Regions from separate parts of the Homo sapiens genome. Here region 1 is linked to region 2. The links are contacts of gene promoters, found by promoter capture Hi-C in human tissues and cell types (Jung and others, 2019). All regions are on one chromosome and are shown on one strand. Each heading gives the region's core, a stretch centred on a gene start or on the middle of the fragment in contact. The rest is flanking DNA. Distances are from core to core; before and after follow the strand shown.

Region 1 (7,456 bases), core at 1,558-4,057, 280 kb before region 2:
GGCCCTCCCCCTGGGATACCTGCTGACACCAGGCTGGGCAGGGCCCTTCGGAAGGCGAGTGGGAGGACCCAGGAGCTCCTGCTCCTGAGCCCAGGGTCACCTTTAGGGAGCACTTTGGGGGGTCAGTTGTGCACCTTCCGGAAGGAGGCAGCGAGACTGGGGAGCAGCAGGAGGAAGCCGTGGCCAAGGTCCCTGCAGAGCCAGCTGCTCTGAGCCTTGCCCAGGGCATGGCTGAAACGCAGCCCCAGGCTCCATGCCAGTTCTCCAGGCACTGGCCCAAGGTCTCCTCCTCTTGAAGAGCTGCTCAGGTTAATTTCCCACGGCAGCGGGATTCCAGCGTCCTCCCTCCCTCAGTCCTTGTGGCGCCATCCCCTGCCTGGCCCTGGACCCCCATCCTCTGACGGGTTCCTCTTCCCCTCGTGCCTTTACTTACTTGACAGATGTTCACACCCCCACACGCTGAGCTCAGCATCTCCTGGTCACGGGTCCCTGGAGCCTGTGGGCCAGCACAGGGGGCCCGCCTGCATGTAGGACCTTCTCTGAACAGTCACCAGCTCCGGGCATGGCGAGGGCCCAGGGGTCTGTCTGACCTGAATCTCCCAGGTGGGAGCTGGTCTTTGAGGCACACGGCAGCCTCTGCACCACGTTTCGGGGGTCAGGAGGTGCAGAATAGCTCTGCAGGGGGAGGCAGGGGGTGACGCGGCCGCTCCTGGAGCACCGGCCTCGCCAACTCTGGTGGAGACCCCCAGGCTGTCGAGGGCCACAGCGATGCCCTCCTCTCCCTTTGCTCCTCCCCACCCAATCCCCCCTGCAGGGCAGCCTGGCCTCCTGCACAGACCGACAGGTGGGCGCTGGAGGCAACATGCCTGGACCAGGACTCCTGGGCCTCACCTGCCCAGTGTGCCTGCAGTACCATCTCCGCTCACCACCTGGCTGGGTGCATCTCTCCTGGGGGCCACCACACTCCAGGGATGCCGGTCTCCCTTCTCAGCTGGTATTTCAATCAGGGTCTGGAAAGGGGTGGCCTCCACTCCTCCTGTCCCAGGGGAGACTTGGGCTGGCCAGGTGAGGGTGGGATTCTGACCAAGGCGACCTCTCCTTCCCAGAGGGACAGAGGCTGTCCTGGGTGGGTAACCGCCCTTTGGTCTAGACCCTCCTGATCCCTCAGACCAGGAGAGACGGGGCATTTCTGATGTCGCTGCTTGAAAGGCAACCCAAACTGGAGCCTCTCCTCTGACGCGTCCTGCTGTCTGAATAAGCCGAGGAGGCGCCGCCACCTTGGTGTCAGTGCACGCTGAGGCCAAGGGCTCTCCTCCCGGACACTCATCGCCGGCCCCTGAGAGGAAGGGTGGACCCACCCCAGGCACAGACATGCCGGCACCTTCTGGGCTTCCTTGCCCCAGGGTTGACCTTTTGTCCTTATCCTGCCTGGGCTCCTCCTGGCGGCTCACACAAGGGTGGGTGTGATGTCACCTGGGCCGACCTGCCCCCGACTCAGCACCGAGGCTCCTGTGTGCCTCAAACCCGGCTCCCGCCAGGAATTCGAGTCAGACAGGTCCCTGGGCCCTCGCCATGCCCCAAACTGGCAGCCATACAGAGGACGCCCCGCATGCAGGTGGGGACCCACAATCAGGCCCCCGGGGCAGGTGGGCACCTGGGTGGAGGCCACGGCTTTCTCACCTGGACGGGGACTAAGGAGGCTCCTCTGCCCGTCCCCTGTCCAGGCCTCGCTGAGGCTCCTAGGCCATCACCTTCTTTCTCCTGACATCCCCACCCCTCCGGTGCCCCCCAGGCCCCCCCCAGTCAACTCCCACTTGGGCTCTTGTCTCAGGCCCGAGGCCAGGGCCAGCCTTGGCAAAGGCAAGATCTCTTCTGAGAACAGGTGCCGGCCTGGAGCCAACGGGTGGCCTTGGCGTCCGGTGGCCTCGGCCCCAGCGTCCAGATTGGACCCAAGGGGACGATCGCCCCACCACTGACGAGGGTGCCACGAATGGGGTTGTGGACAGGGGGTGTGAGGGGCTCGGGGGAGGTGGTGCTGGTGCGTGGCTGCTGCAGCCTGGGGACACAGCCGTCCTCACGCTCGGCCAAGGGTCACTGGTGACAGACGGCGAGGCCTCGTCCCCAGATGCCGCCTCCCACGTGGTTCAGCCAGAACGCGCTCCCACCTCAGCCCTCCCTGGTCACCGTGGGTGTCAGAGCCACCAGGGTGGTGCCATCCCGAGGGGCATTCCCTCGACAGGTGACAGCTCTTCCCAAACACTGCTGCCCCAGAGTGTGACAGAGGCCCCTGGTCCGGAGCCACACCACAGAGGGACACCCCCACGGCCCCTCGCACTGAGAGCGCGCGGCTCAGGCAGGAGCCAGCCTCAGGCTGCAGGCCCTGTGGGCGGACGGCGGAGGGAGGCAGGGCTGGGAGACGTTTTTTGTATCTATGAGTTAACAACAAACCCAGCCGGAACCCCAGGCTCAGATCTGCTCAGAAGACGGAGGGGAAGCAGCAAATGCTGGCGTCTGACTTGGATCCAGGACTTTTATTTTTAAGCTTTAAAAATGTGAAGAAGAGGATGTCACCAGCTAACGACGTCAGCAAACGTCTTGGAAAATTTGGAAACGTGTTGACCGGGTTGGCTGTAATTTATTTCTAGAAGTGTAAGCAAGAATTTGGGGCTGAGGGCTAAGAAAGGCAAAACCAGAAACATCAAGATCGGCTCAATGTGACCCCTGCCGCATGCCTGCTCCCAGGACCCCTCACCCCCAACCCCTGCCACACACCTGCTCCCGGGGGCTCCCCACCCCTCACCCCCACCTCATGCCTGCTCCCCGGCACTTCTCACCTGCTCACCCCTACCACATGCTGGCTCCCCTGACCCCCCACCCCTCACCCCTGCTGCACACCTGCTCCCCTGATCCCCCACCCCTCACCCCTGCTGCACACCTGCTCCGGCGATCCCCCACCCCTCACCCCCGCTGCACTTGCAGCCCAGCCTTGGAGTGCAGGCCTTTCTCCTTCACTCTTCCGCCTTAGGACGCTGGCCGTGTATGAGTGTCAGTGCACGGATGAGCGAGTGTGAGTGTGAGCCTGACAGGCATGTGTGAGCATGAGTTCAGTGTGTGTGTGAGCAAGTGTGTGTGTGCCTGCGTGAGTGTGCACAACAGTCGGCCTCTCCACGTGCATGTGCCAGGCCGGCAGGTCCAGCCCCCTCTGCTTCCTCCGCGTGAGGAGGGCTCACAGTCCCTGCAGGGCCTGCACAGCCCGGGAGACCAGCGATAGGGCAGGGGCTCCGGGAGCTGCCAGCTTGGCTGGGAGGACAGAATCACGTTGCTGATGGACGTCTTCTGAGAGAGGACTGGGACGCCATCATTCGAGTGAGGTTTGAGGTGGGAGTCGACTCCAGAGGCAGTACTTGGACTCCGGACCGGATTGACTAGTTAAAGCAGGGCTCGCGGAAGCAGCTTTCCCTAAGCCTCGCCCACCCGAGTGCCTGTCAGTTTTCCGTTGCCATAGCAACACCCGGGTGTTACCGCCCCCTTCTATGGCAATGACTCAATGACCCAAAAGTTACTACCCCTTCCCTAGAAATTTCTGCATAAATCGCCCCTTAATCTGCATGCGATTAAAAGCGGTATAAGTGTGACTGCAAAACTGCCCCAAGCGGCTGCTCTCTGCCTACGGGGCGGCCCCGCTGCAGGAGCAGTCAGGGAGCTGTGAGCTGTGGCACGGCCGCCTGAATAAAGCTCTTTCCTTCTACCTGCGGCTTGCCCTTGAATTCCCTCCAGGGTAAAGCCAAGAACCGTCGGGGCTCAGCCCCACCTGGGGGCTCCCCTGCCCCGCACCACCGAAGTCTTGGATGGGTAACTGGAAGATGCCATTGTGAATAGAAATATCCTTTCTCGATGAATTAGAAAATGAAACCAACTCCTGCATTAATTTTACACAAATGACATCAAGAGGGTTGAGAGAAGAAGGTGGCTGTCCCCAGCTCCGGGTCCCTGCCAGCCTTATGATAGTCTTCTAAGGCCATCTATTATTTCCTGAAATATTCATAGAAGTATGAAAAATTGAGCATGAGTGGTTTGCTTTGTGCTTCGTTATTTATTAAGCTTGTGACTTATTTTTCTTTTGGCGAAGAGCTTCCTATCTTTTCCAAGAAAAAAAAAGTGGGCCAGAATAACAGCCCTCATGTTTTGAGCTTGAAATTAAAATTTCGAAGACCTCCCTGTACAAAGTGAAGCTGAGTAAAGATGTTTACAAATGCAGATTGAAAATGAAAAATGCAAGGGCCTTTGTGACTCATTTTATGAATATGTGTTTTTATCAAAGAACTCCCATAAGTTGACTCGGAGCCTGATTTGCATCTAGGGTTTCATCCTTGCTTGGTGGTGGACTGGCCGTCCCTTCATCCCTTCTATAAGTCCATTAACATCCCTCCCTCCATCTGTCCGTCAACATCCCTCCCTCCATCCATCTGTCTATCAACATTCCTCCCTCCCTCCATCTGTCCATCAAAATCCCTCCCTTCATCCATCTGTCTATCAACATTCCTCCCTCCCTCCATCTGTCCATCAACATCCCTCCCTCCATCCATCCGTCCATCAACATCCCTTCCTCCATCCATCCGTCCATCAACATCCCTCCATCCATCCGTCCATCAACATCCCTCCCTCCATCCATCCGTCCATCAACATCCCTCCCTCCATCCATCCGTCCATCAACATCCCTCTCTCCATCCATCCATCCATCAACATTCCTGGCACCTGCTCAGCATCGGGGGGGCATCCCAGCCCTCACAGGGAGCAGGCACAGTAGGTACAGGTAGAGGCTCCCTGCCTGCTCAGCCCCAGGCCGCTCCTGAGAGCACCCCCAAAGCCACAGGTCACAGCACATTGCCCCTGATTTTACCCCATTAGGAGAGGGAAGATGTGCCCAAGGGGACTGGTGAGCCACAGGGAGGCGGATTCCTGGGCTGCAGCTTAAAACAAGACACTTGTTCCCTCATGGTTCCGGAAGCCAGAGTCCAAGATTGAGGTGTAGGCCTGCGCTCCCTCAGAGCTGCTCGCTCCAGGGAGATCCCTCCTCGGCGCTTCTGCTTCTGGTGACTCCGGGTGTCCTCAGCATCGCCCAGCCCCACCTCCATCTTTGCAAGCCTCTCCTTTCTCCCATAAGGATGCCAGGCACCGGATTTCAGGCCCATACTAAATCCAAGATGATCTCATCATGATATCCTTAACTTTTTACATCTGCGAAGACCCTGTTTCCAAACTGGTCACGTTTGTAGGAACCAGGGCTTAGGACTCGAACATATCTTTTGGGGAGACAAGATTCATCCCCCATGAGCATGGGTTCAGAGAGCAACGGCTTTAGCACTACCGAGGTCTTAATCCAAGCTTCCTGTCAGGATTTAATACAAGGGAGGCTGAACTGCCGGGGAGCTCAGAAATGCACGAGCAAGACATGAGCGTAGGGGAGGTTCCCGGGGTGCCTCGACTGTCCAGGCTTGCAGCTGCAGGTGGAGAGGAGGCAAGGCTGTTTGCCCATTTCAGCCTCAGAACAGTCACAGCCCAGCAGCCGGCGGCCTGTCCATGATGACCATTCTGCTCCGGAGCCTACACAGAGGGCACTGTTCACCCTGCGGCCGCCTCCCTGCGCTCCAAGGATCAGCCTCATGATAAGGTCAGAAAGAACCTTGGCTTTAGGGTCTGTCCCGCGTGGCCACCTGTTCTGTATGTTAAAACCGACTTGCCTGCCATTTCTCTTCTTATCCCTCACACCCACCCACCCAGCCTGGGCCAGGCCTGGTTCTAGGGCGCGGCCAACGGTCGGGGACAAAATATTCATGGTTTCTGGGTTCGTGGTCAGGCAGTTTGGGTGGACACAAGCAAGTGCCACGTAAAATAAGCAACGGTGAGAATGGTTATGAGTCGCAATGACACTGTGAGGCACTTTAACAGGCTCATCGGCGTGGCCCTAGGCCCTGCCCTCTGTGAGCCCAGGTCACCCCCAGGACGCCCAGCGGCTGCTGCGCCACCTCCCTCCTCCCACTGTGGCCAGGCCTGGCGGGCGGGTGCTGCCTCCCGACACGCACACTTTGCCGGGGCAGGTCCGCGCCAGCGCCGTCGCCAGAAGAGCCTCACAAAGACGCGGCTGCCACCGTTTGGCGTCTTTGAAGACTGTTCAGCAGGTCTGAGGATGAGCTGCTCTGAGGGTTTTTCCCAACTTACCATTTTGATACAACGTCAAACATATGTAAAAGTCACAAGAATACGACAAGGAACTGCCATTAGAGCCTTAGGCGAATTCACCAACTGTTCCCACTTCTCACCGGTGTCACCTTCCCACCGTTCCCACTCCTCACTGGCGTTACCTTCCCTCCGTTCCCACTTCTCCTCAACGGCGTTACATTCCTGCGGTTCCCACTTCTCACCGGTGTCACCTTCCCACCGTTCCCACTCCTCACTGGCGTTACCTTCCCACCGTTCCCACTCCTCACTGGCGTTACCTTCCCTCCGTTCCCACTTCTCCTCAACGGCGTTACATTCCTGCGGTTCCCACTTCTCACCGGTGTCACCTTCCCACCGTTCCCACTCCTCACTGGCGTTACCTTCCCTCCGTTCCCACTTCTCCTCAACGGCGTTACCTTCCTGCGGTTCCCACTTCTCACCGGTGTCACCTTCCCACCGTTCCCACTCCTCACTGGCGTTACCTTCCTGCCATTCCCACTTCTCCTCACGGCGTTACCTTCCTGCCGTTCCCACTTCTCCTCAATGGTGTTTCCTTCCCGCCTTTCCCACTTCTCACCAGCGTTACCTTCCCGCCATTCCTACTTCTCCTCAACGACGTTACCTTCCCTCTGTTCCCACTTCTCACTGGCGTTACCTTCATGCTGTTCCTACTTCTCCTCATGCCATTACCTTCCTGCCATTCCCACTTCTCCTCACGCATTACCTTCCTGCTGTTCCCAATTCTCTCTGGCGTTACCTTCCTGCTGTTCTGCCGTTCACGCGTGTTTATATGTGTTTGCATGTGTTTACATGTGTTTGCATGTGCCTGTGTCTGCATATGCGCATTTCCCTGAATCGACGGAGGGTGAGTTGAGAGTTGAAGAAATTATGCCATTTTACTGCTAAATACCTCAGCGTGTACTTCCTGACAAAGACACTTCTTTTCATTACCACAGTATAGCTGTCAAAATCAGGAAAGTTCACACCAATGAAATATCTAATCCAGAGTCCATACTCAGATTTCATCAATTGTGCCTAAACATCCCTTTAGCTTTTTCCCACTACATCCTGGATCTAATCCAGGACCGCGGGCCTATGACCTTTTCAAAGTCCTAATTTCCATCCTTCTTCAACAGTTCTTGTAGCCTTTCTTTGTATTTCTTGACCTTGACATTTTTGTGAGTGTTTGTCAGCGACTTTGCAGAGTGCCCCTCAGTCTGGGTTGACGTTCGGATTT
Region 2 (7,048 bases), core at 1,773-4,272:
GTGTTGGGGAGGGGTTGGGGAATCTCTACAAACTTTTTTTAAAGTCTGGTTAATTGACGTGTAATTCACATACAGTAAAACTCACCATTTGTAGTGTACGGTTCTACGAATTTGTAAAAATACATATAGTTGTGCAACCAAAACCACAATTGAGTTACGGAACATTTCCATAACAACAAGAAACTTTTTTTGTGTCCCTTTATAGTCACCTGCTCCCTGACTCCCAGCCCTGGCAACCATTGATCTATTTTCTGTTCCTATAGTTTCGCTTTTTCTAGAGGGCCATATGAATGGAATCATACAATGTGCAGCCTTTTCAGCCGAGTCTCACTCTGTCGCCCAGGCTGGAGTGCAGGGGCACGATCTCGGCTCACTGCAACCTCCATCTCCCAGGTTCAAGAGATTCTCCTGCCTCAGCCTCCTGAGTAGCTGGCCTCCCCCTCAGGTGGTCCCAGAGTGCTCGGAGGAGGCTCGGGCGAGTCGCGACGGGGCCGGCAGCACGCGCTGGGCCCGGTGTCTGTCCTCAGGCCCTGGACTCGGGGGGAGCGCGTTTCGGGGACTAGCTGGACTCCGGGCTGTGCGTGGGGGCGGTGCTGTCGGCCTGGGAGTGACGCGGGACTTCCTGCCCAGCGCAACCCGGCCTGGCCCCCGAGGGTGGGGGACAGGGCGACGCCCGCGGGGACCACGCTCTGGGGCGTGCGGGGCGCAATTCACGGGGCTGGGCTGCCCCAGGGGCTGGGAGGAAGGAGGCAGGGGGGCGCCCAAGTCTCCTACCCATGGCAGCGCATCAGGGCGCGTCCCAGAGCCGGGGGTGGACGGAGGCTTGGAGGCGGAGGCTTTGGGGACCCCCAAGCCTGGGCTAGAGCAGCCTCGGCGGGCTCTAGAGGGAGGGTGGAGGGAGGGGCCCGGGCTGCAGGAGGCGGGGAGGCCTGAGCCACGGTGGTGGGGCCGCTGGGCAGGAGAGAGGGGCTGCCTGACCCTGCCGTGTGAAGGTGAGGTTGTCTTCGGGCTTGGGGGGATCGGAGGGGGCGGTTCAGGTGGAGGTGGTGGCGGGGGGCTGGGAAACCGGCAGGAGGGGCTCTATGTAGAGCTGGGGGTGGGGGTGCTGAACCACGTACAGAAGGGGGCTGAGACACCGGGGCCCTGGGCCCCGGAAATTAGAAATGGAGAAATGGAAGGCTGGGTGCTGGCGTTTCGGAAATGCATGCTCGTGGTGTTCCTCTTTATGTAAGGGAAGCTTCTGGGCCTTTTCCCTGCCTGTCGAACGTTCTGTATGTTTTTGCGGGATGTGTGAGGTGTGCTGTCTTGCTCCACTTTGAGGCACCGCCCCCACTGCGGGAGTGCTGGGGACCTGCCCCATGGGGCATCCTCGGGGCCAGCCCTGTGGCCACAGGCATCTGGGCCCTCGCTGCCCCTGGCCGGGACACACTGCCGGTCCTGTGCAGTGGCTCAAAGCCCCTCTACCGGGGGTGACCCGGTCTCTCCGGAGATGAAGTGCAGCGGGGGTCTAGGCCGGCTTCCTGGCCCCCCACCCCTCCTGGCTTTACCCCCGAGGCCACGTCCAAAGCCCCCAGCGCCCCACCCCCGCCAGCCTCCCCCTTGAGGGCCCAGTGACCTAACTGGGCCGGCAGGGTCCGAGGAAGACCAGGGTCAGCGGCGGCACGGTCCGTTCCGCGACCCCTCTCCTGTGACCCCAGGTAGGCCGCCGATCGGTTCCCGGCTGAGGTCCCGCCCCAGCGCCCGCCTCCCGGGCTCCAACCTCTTTGCTCAGCCCGGGAGGCTCGGCTGGCTGGGGCGGGCGTAACCGTGGGGCGAGGCCCGCCGGTCTTTCTGATTTCCGCGGGCGGCGTGGGCGCTGAGGCAGCCGCGGTCAGGACCTGGCCGGGAGTCGGGGCTGCTCCGTGGACCCCGCGTCTGCGCCGAAACCCCGCATGGCTTCGGGGGCCGGACCTGCGCCTCCGCCTAACTCCGGCCGCCGGAGACGCCGTGCGGACCCCAAGCCAGTGCGCGGAAGACACCGTCCTACCCTCGGCATGGCTGCCTCCCACCCGGTCACGTCGGTCCCCGCGCCCCACGCCGACGCGCAGGCGACCCGGGGACGCGGAGACGCAGACAGCTCGGGACTCAGGTTCGTGGGAGCAGCGGCCGCGCGTGGCTATGACCGTCCCGGGGGCCCGTGCTCAGGGCGTCCCCGTGAGGTTTGGGCGCCACAGTCACCGGCGGCTCTGCCCGCGCCCTGGCCACAGTGGGGACAGCCTGGCTTGGCGGGGACGCACCAGTCCCGCCGCCGACGCGGAGTTCCTACCCCGCCGTGCGAGGCAGTGGCTCCGGCCCTTCCAGCTCGGGATGGAGTCAGGGAGCCGCCCGCGCCCGAATGCAGAGGCTCCTGCGATGGCCCCGGAGTGAGTCCCCCAGAGGAGCCGGATTAGGGCTGGAGGCGGCCGAGTCCCCCGAGAGGCCCCTCCCGACATTCCCGCCCCCGCGCGCCGCTCCCCGGGTCCTCCGCGTCTCTTTCCCGGGAAAGCCTCCCTCGGTTCCTGCGCGGCCGCACAGCCTGGACGCAGCGCACGCGGGCACCGGCCTGACTCTCCCACCCCGAAGCCTGCTCCCAACCTAAGTCCGCCCTGACTCTCCCAGCCTGAAGCCTGCTCGCCCTCGGGTGTCCGGGCTGGGCACAGGCGCCAGCGTCCCCCTGGAGAGGAGAGGTCGCCCGGCACCTCCCAGGACAGGCCCAAGTGGGAGTGGGACCCTCCTACCTTCCTGCAGCCTCGGCCCGCGGGGTGGGGGGTTGGGAGAGATGAAAGGAGGTGACCGATCCCGAACCATCGCCTCTCCATTAACCAGGGCCCGCAGCCCCGCCCCTCCCCCAGACATCGAGGAGCCGGGGAGGTGTGAACGGCCTCCTTTGTGCCTCTGAATCGAAGGCAATTAGGCGCTGCTTATCTGGGCATTAGCCGTGTATGCAAACCGGGCTCCCGCCCCCTCCTCCTGGGCTTATAAACGCCGCCGCCTGGCGAGGCCCGAGGTGGATCCTGCGCCTGGCCAGCCCCGCCTGGCCTTCCCTCCGGCCCACCTGGCCGCCATGCGCCTCTCCTCCTCCCCACCTCGTGGCCCGCAGCAGCTCTCCAGCTTTGGCTCCGTGGACTGGCTCTCCCAGAGCAGCTGCTCAGGGCCGACCCACACCCCCAGGCCTGCCGACTTCTCCCTGGGGAGCCTCCCTGGCCCAGGCCAGACATCCGGCGCCCGGGAGCCCCCTCAGGCCGTCAGCATCAAGGAGGCCGCCGGGTCCTCAAATCTGCCTGCGCCGGAGAGGACCATGGCCGGTAGGTCCGGGTGGGGGGGGTCCCTTCCTTCCCAGGTGGAGATGGGAGTGGGGGAGAGGCCAGGAGCCCGGCGGCTGCACTCCCCGCGGTGCCCTGCCCACTAGGTCAGGGCCGGGGGCGTTTCCATGAGGGCCGGCGGAGGCCTTGCCGGCGCCCTCACTGGAGCGCAGCTTCCCTCGGAACCAAAGCCTTGACGGGGATTTCCTCTCCTTGAGCCCCCGGTGGGCTCCTCTGCCTCCTTTTGTCACCCCGTTCCTCAGCTGTGTCTTCGTCCCCCACCCCGGCCTGGTGCCGAGGGACCGTCCAAGGGGTCCCCGTCCGCACCTCCCTGCCCTGATTCCGGGCGCTCACTGAAAGTCTCGATGATTTGCCAAGCCCCCCGCCCCCGCCCCCCAGCACAGCCGGTGCCTGCTCAGCGTCTAGGCTCAAGCCCATTCCGGGTCACCTGGAGCACAGCTGTCTTTAAAGAGCCTGCAGGTTCGCTGCAGGGGTGGCGGTGACCCCGATGCCTGCAGAAACTCTGAAGTTCCCTCTGTGGCCGCCCAGATGCTCTGTTGTCTGCTGAGAACAAAGGTTCTCTGCGTTTGTGTTTTAGTCTTTGTGACATCATCACCACTTTTAGGTTTAAGGTAGTACTTGGTCAAAAGTGGGGTTGACATCATCTACAAGTTTTCATTTTTAAAAATTTGACTGATCCTTATGGAGTGACTTTGTACTTAAGGGAAATGAAAATTTAAATGTATTCTCCCCAGCTAGCTATCCTGCCCCACCCCAAAAAAGCCAGCCATCCCTGTCCCGCAACCCCCTTTCTGATGCCAGTCCTACAGCCCTCCCTGCCAGAAGGCATTTGCTTTTTGGGTCTACCATGTGCTTTCAGGCTAACGTTAAGACAGATTTTGTAAAATACGCTTCCTTCCGCAGAAACTCCAGCGAGCATTTTGGTCAGACTTGCATTTAATGTCGAGCTCGATTGGCCACGTTGGCCTTTCCTGGGACCCAGACCCAGCTCCACAGACCACCTCGTGGGGCCGTTTGGTGCCAGCCCCCATTCCTTAACTTAGAAATTAGGAAACAGACTTGACCACAGTGGGCCTGGGGATTAACTGAGTTGGCCTCCGCTGGCTGAGGAGACGGAGCCCGGGACAGGGATGGGTGCCCCTGGGTGGGTCGCCAGGCCTTTGCATATAATGGATTCTTACCTTACCGGCCTGGAAGGCTGTGGGAAGGGCATCCTGGGAACCGGCTTCTGGAAGGGAAGTGTGGGATGGGGCGGAACTGAGTGGACTGAGCGGAGGGCAGGCCCAAGCTGCTGTTAACATTCCCTCCCCTCTTGAGCCCCCTCTCTGAGCCCCCTTTCCGCATGTGACCTGGGAGGCGGCGGGGGTGCTGCTGGTCACTGTCAGGTGAGAAGATCTGCCCTGCCCAGCCCCCAGCATGGCTGTCTTCACCTGTTACCCGTGGGCACGAGCTTGCCCCATGGGGTGGCATGTTGAGCCAAATGCCCTTACCCTCTATGTCAGGGTTGAGTAAGGAGCCAAATACCTTGCGGGCCCCCCGTGTCCGCACAGCCTTCACCATGGAGCAGGTCCGCACCTTGGAGGGCGTCTTCCAGCACCACCAGTACCTGAGCCCTCTGGAGCGGAAGAGGCTGGCCAGGGAGATGCAGCTCTCAGAGGTCCAGGTGAGGTGGGCCGGGCAGGCTGGGGTGGGCAGGGGTGGGCAAGGGTGGGCTGGTGGCCTAGTCTCACCCCTGTTCTGATCTTGCTTTTCCTACAGATAAAAACCTGGTTTCAGAATCGCCGCATGAAACACAAACGGCAAATGCAGGACCCCCAGCTGCACAGCCCCTTCTCGGGGTCTCTCCATGCGCCCCCAGCTTTCTACTCAACGTCTTCTGGCCTTGCCAATGGCCTGCAGCTGCTGTGCCCTTGGGCACCCCTGTCCGGGCCCCAGGCTCTGATGCTGCCCCCTGGCTCCTTCTGGGGTCTCTGCCAAGTGGCACAAGAGGCCCTGGCATCTGCGGGAGCTTCCTGCTGCGGGCAGCCTCTGGCGTCCCACCCCCCTACCCCAGGCCGGCCTTCGCTGGGACCAGCCCTGTCCACGGGGCCCCGGGGCCTGTGTGCTATGCCACAGACGGGGGATGCATTTTGAGGAGGCACCTCTGACTCCCACACTCGCGGTCTTGCTGATCGCACCTGGCTCCTACCTGGAGGACTCAGTTGTTCTGTTTACATCCTGGTGGCACCTCTCACCCTGACCCACACAAAGGTTCTGGAGATTACTGGAGAATATATATAAATATATATATGTACGTATATATGTAAATACACATATACGTATATATAAATATATATATACATATGTGTGTGTATATATATATATATTTTTTTTTTTTTTTTTTTTTTTGAGACGGAGTGTTGCTCTGTCACCCAGGCTGGAGTGCAATGACGCAATCTCGGCTCACTGCAACCTCCGCCTCCTGGGTTCAAGCGATTCTCCAGCCTCAGCCTCCCGAGTAGCTGGGATTACAGACACCCGCCACCACGCCCGGCTAATTTTTTCTATTTTTAGTAGAAATGGGGTTTCACCATGTTAGCCAGGCTGGTCTCAAACTCCTGACCCTGTGATCCGCCCGCCTCGGCCTCCCAAAGTGCTGGGATTACAGGCATGAGCCACTGCACCCGGCCCTGAGAATATATTTATTAAAGCCACCTCTTCACTGAAAGTTACCGAAAGAGTCGGTTTAGGAAGGAAACGAAGGGTCAGTGAACAGAGTCAAATGCAGAAGTGGGCTTGTCATGGGTAGGGCTTTCGGCGTACGATAAAAGGATCATTTGTTTTTTAAAAGGGGTTGGAAAAACTGGTTTTCCAGTTGGAAACAGTAAAGGTTGTAAGCTTTGTGTGTACAAAAGAAAACAGGGAATGCAGGTGTGTTTATAGCGTTGTGGTTCAAGTCCCTCTTAACAAGAACTCCAAAGCTGGAAAGCAGGAGGGAACAAAGGTGAACATGAAGGCGAGGATGCTGGGGCCCTGCAGTGCGCTCTAGGCTGTGCGTGAGCCGGGACTGTACCCACAGCTTGCTGAGGGCTGCTCTTCTTGGGCCAGGGAAAGCAGGGCAGCCGGGACCTGCGGCTGTGCCTGGACTGAAGCTGTCCCGCAGGTCCCCACCCTCCAACACGTGCTCACCTGTCCCCCTGCTCGCAGCAGCCTCGGGACAAAACAATGACTCAAGGACAGCACTTCTTGCAGAAGGTCTGGAAGTGCCCAGAATGGGAGGCACGGAAGCCCCTCCCGGGGAGGACTCCCGCGTTGATGGACCGTTCTTGGTGCAGACTCCTGACTGCGTGCATGAAACCTGAGACAAGTGCAATTCCTTCCATGTCGCCCCAGAGTGCCCAGGAGGCAGGCAGTGCGGGGTGCCCAGGCAGACGGGTTCAGCCTGCAGAACTGGAGGCGACCTGTGAAACCCACCCGGGCACCCCAACAGGAACAGAAGCGTGGTCCTGCGGCTGCGTCCCCAGCGAGTTTCACTTTCCCCTTGCTCGTTTCTCCCTTGTTGTAAGTGTTTACAACTGGCATGTGCTTTTAAACGTCAGGTAAGAGGGGAACAGCTGCTGTACATCGTCCTGGCGAGTGACAATGTGACAGAAGCCTGGGCGAGGCCCTCGGAGGGCAGCAGCTGGACAGGGACTACTGGGTTTGGCCTGGACAGCACTGATTTGTGG

What was found. The method cuts DNA at HindIII sites, captures the fragments that hold promoters and counts their contacts. A contact is called where the count stands out against the background at its distance.
Region 1: a fragment that was not itself captured here is called in contact with the fragment with the promoter of VENTX in region 2 in 3 of the 25 tissues and cell types used here (H1 embryonic stem cells, dorsolateral prefrontal cortex and mesendoderm cells).

What each region holds. Positions count from the first base shown.
Region 1 is chr10:132,958,824-132,966,279 of GRCh38, forward strand. It overlaps LINC01166 (long intergenic non-protein coding RNA 1166), which reads right to left and starts at 6,466. Exons shown (of 2, transcript NR_120627.1): 1 at 6,363-6,466. It overlaps LINC01167 (long intergenic non-protein coding RNA 1167), which reads right to left and starts at 3,414. Exons shown (of 2, transcript NR_125763.1): 1 at 2,936-3,414; 2 at 2,517-2,641. LINC01168 (long intergenic non-protein coding RNA 1168) reads left to right here and starts at 6,711. Exons shown (of 3, transcript NR_046231.1): 1 at 6,711-7,084. RefSeq lists an enhancer at 3,012-3,907. The HindIII fragment of the contact is 3,871 bases long and covers 873-4,743 here.
Region 2 is chr10:133,234,833-133,241,880 of GRCh38, forward strand. It overlaps VENTX (VENT homeobox), which reads left to right and starts at 3,023. Exons shown (of 3, transcript NM_014468.4): 1 at 3,023-3,323; 2 at 4,844-5,004; 3 at 5,100-7,048. The coding sequence starts at 3,083. The coding sequence ends at 5,474. RefSeq lists enhancers at 184-788, 1,998-2,601, 2,602-3,206, 3,207-3,810. The HindIII fragment of the contact is 13,892 bases long and covers 1-7,048 here.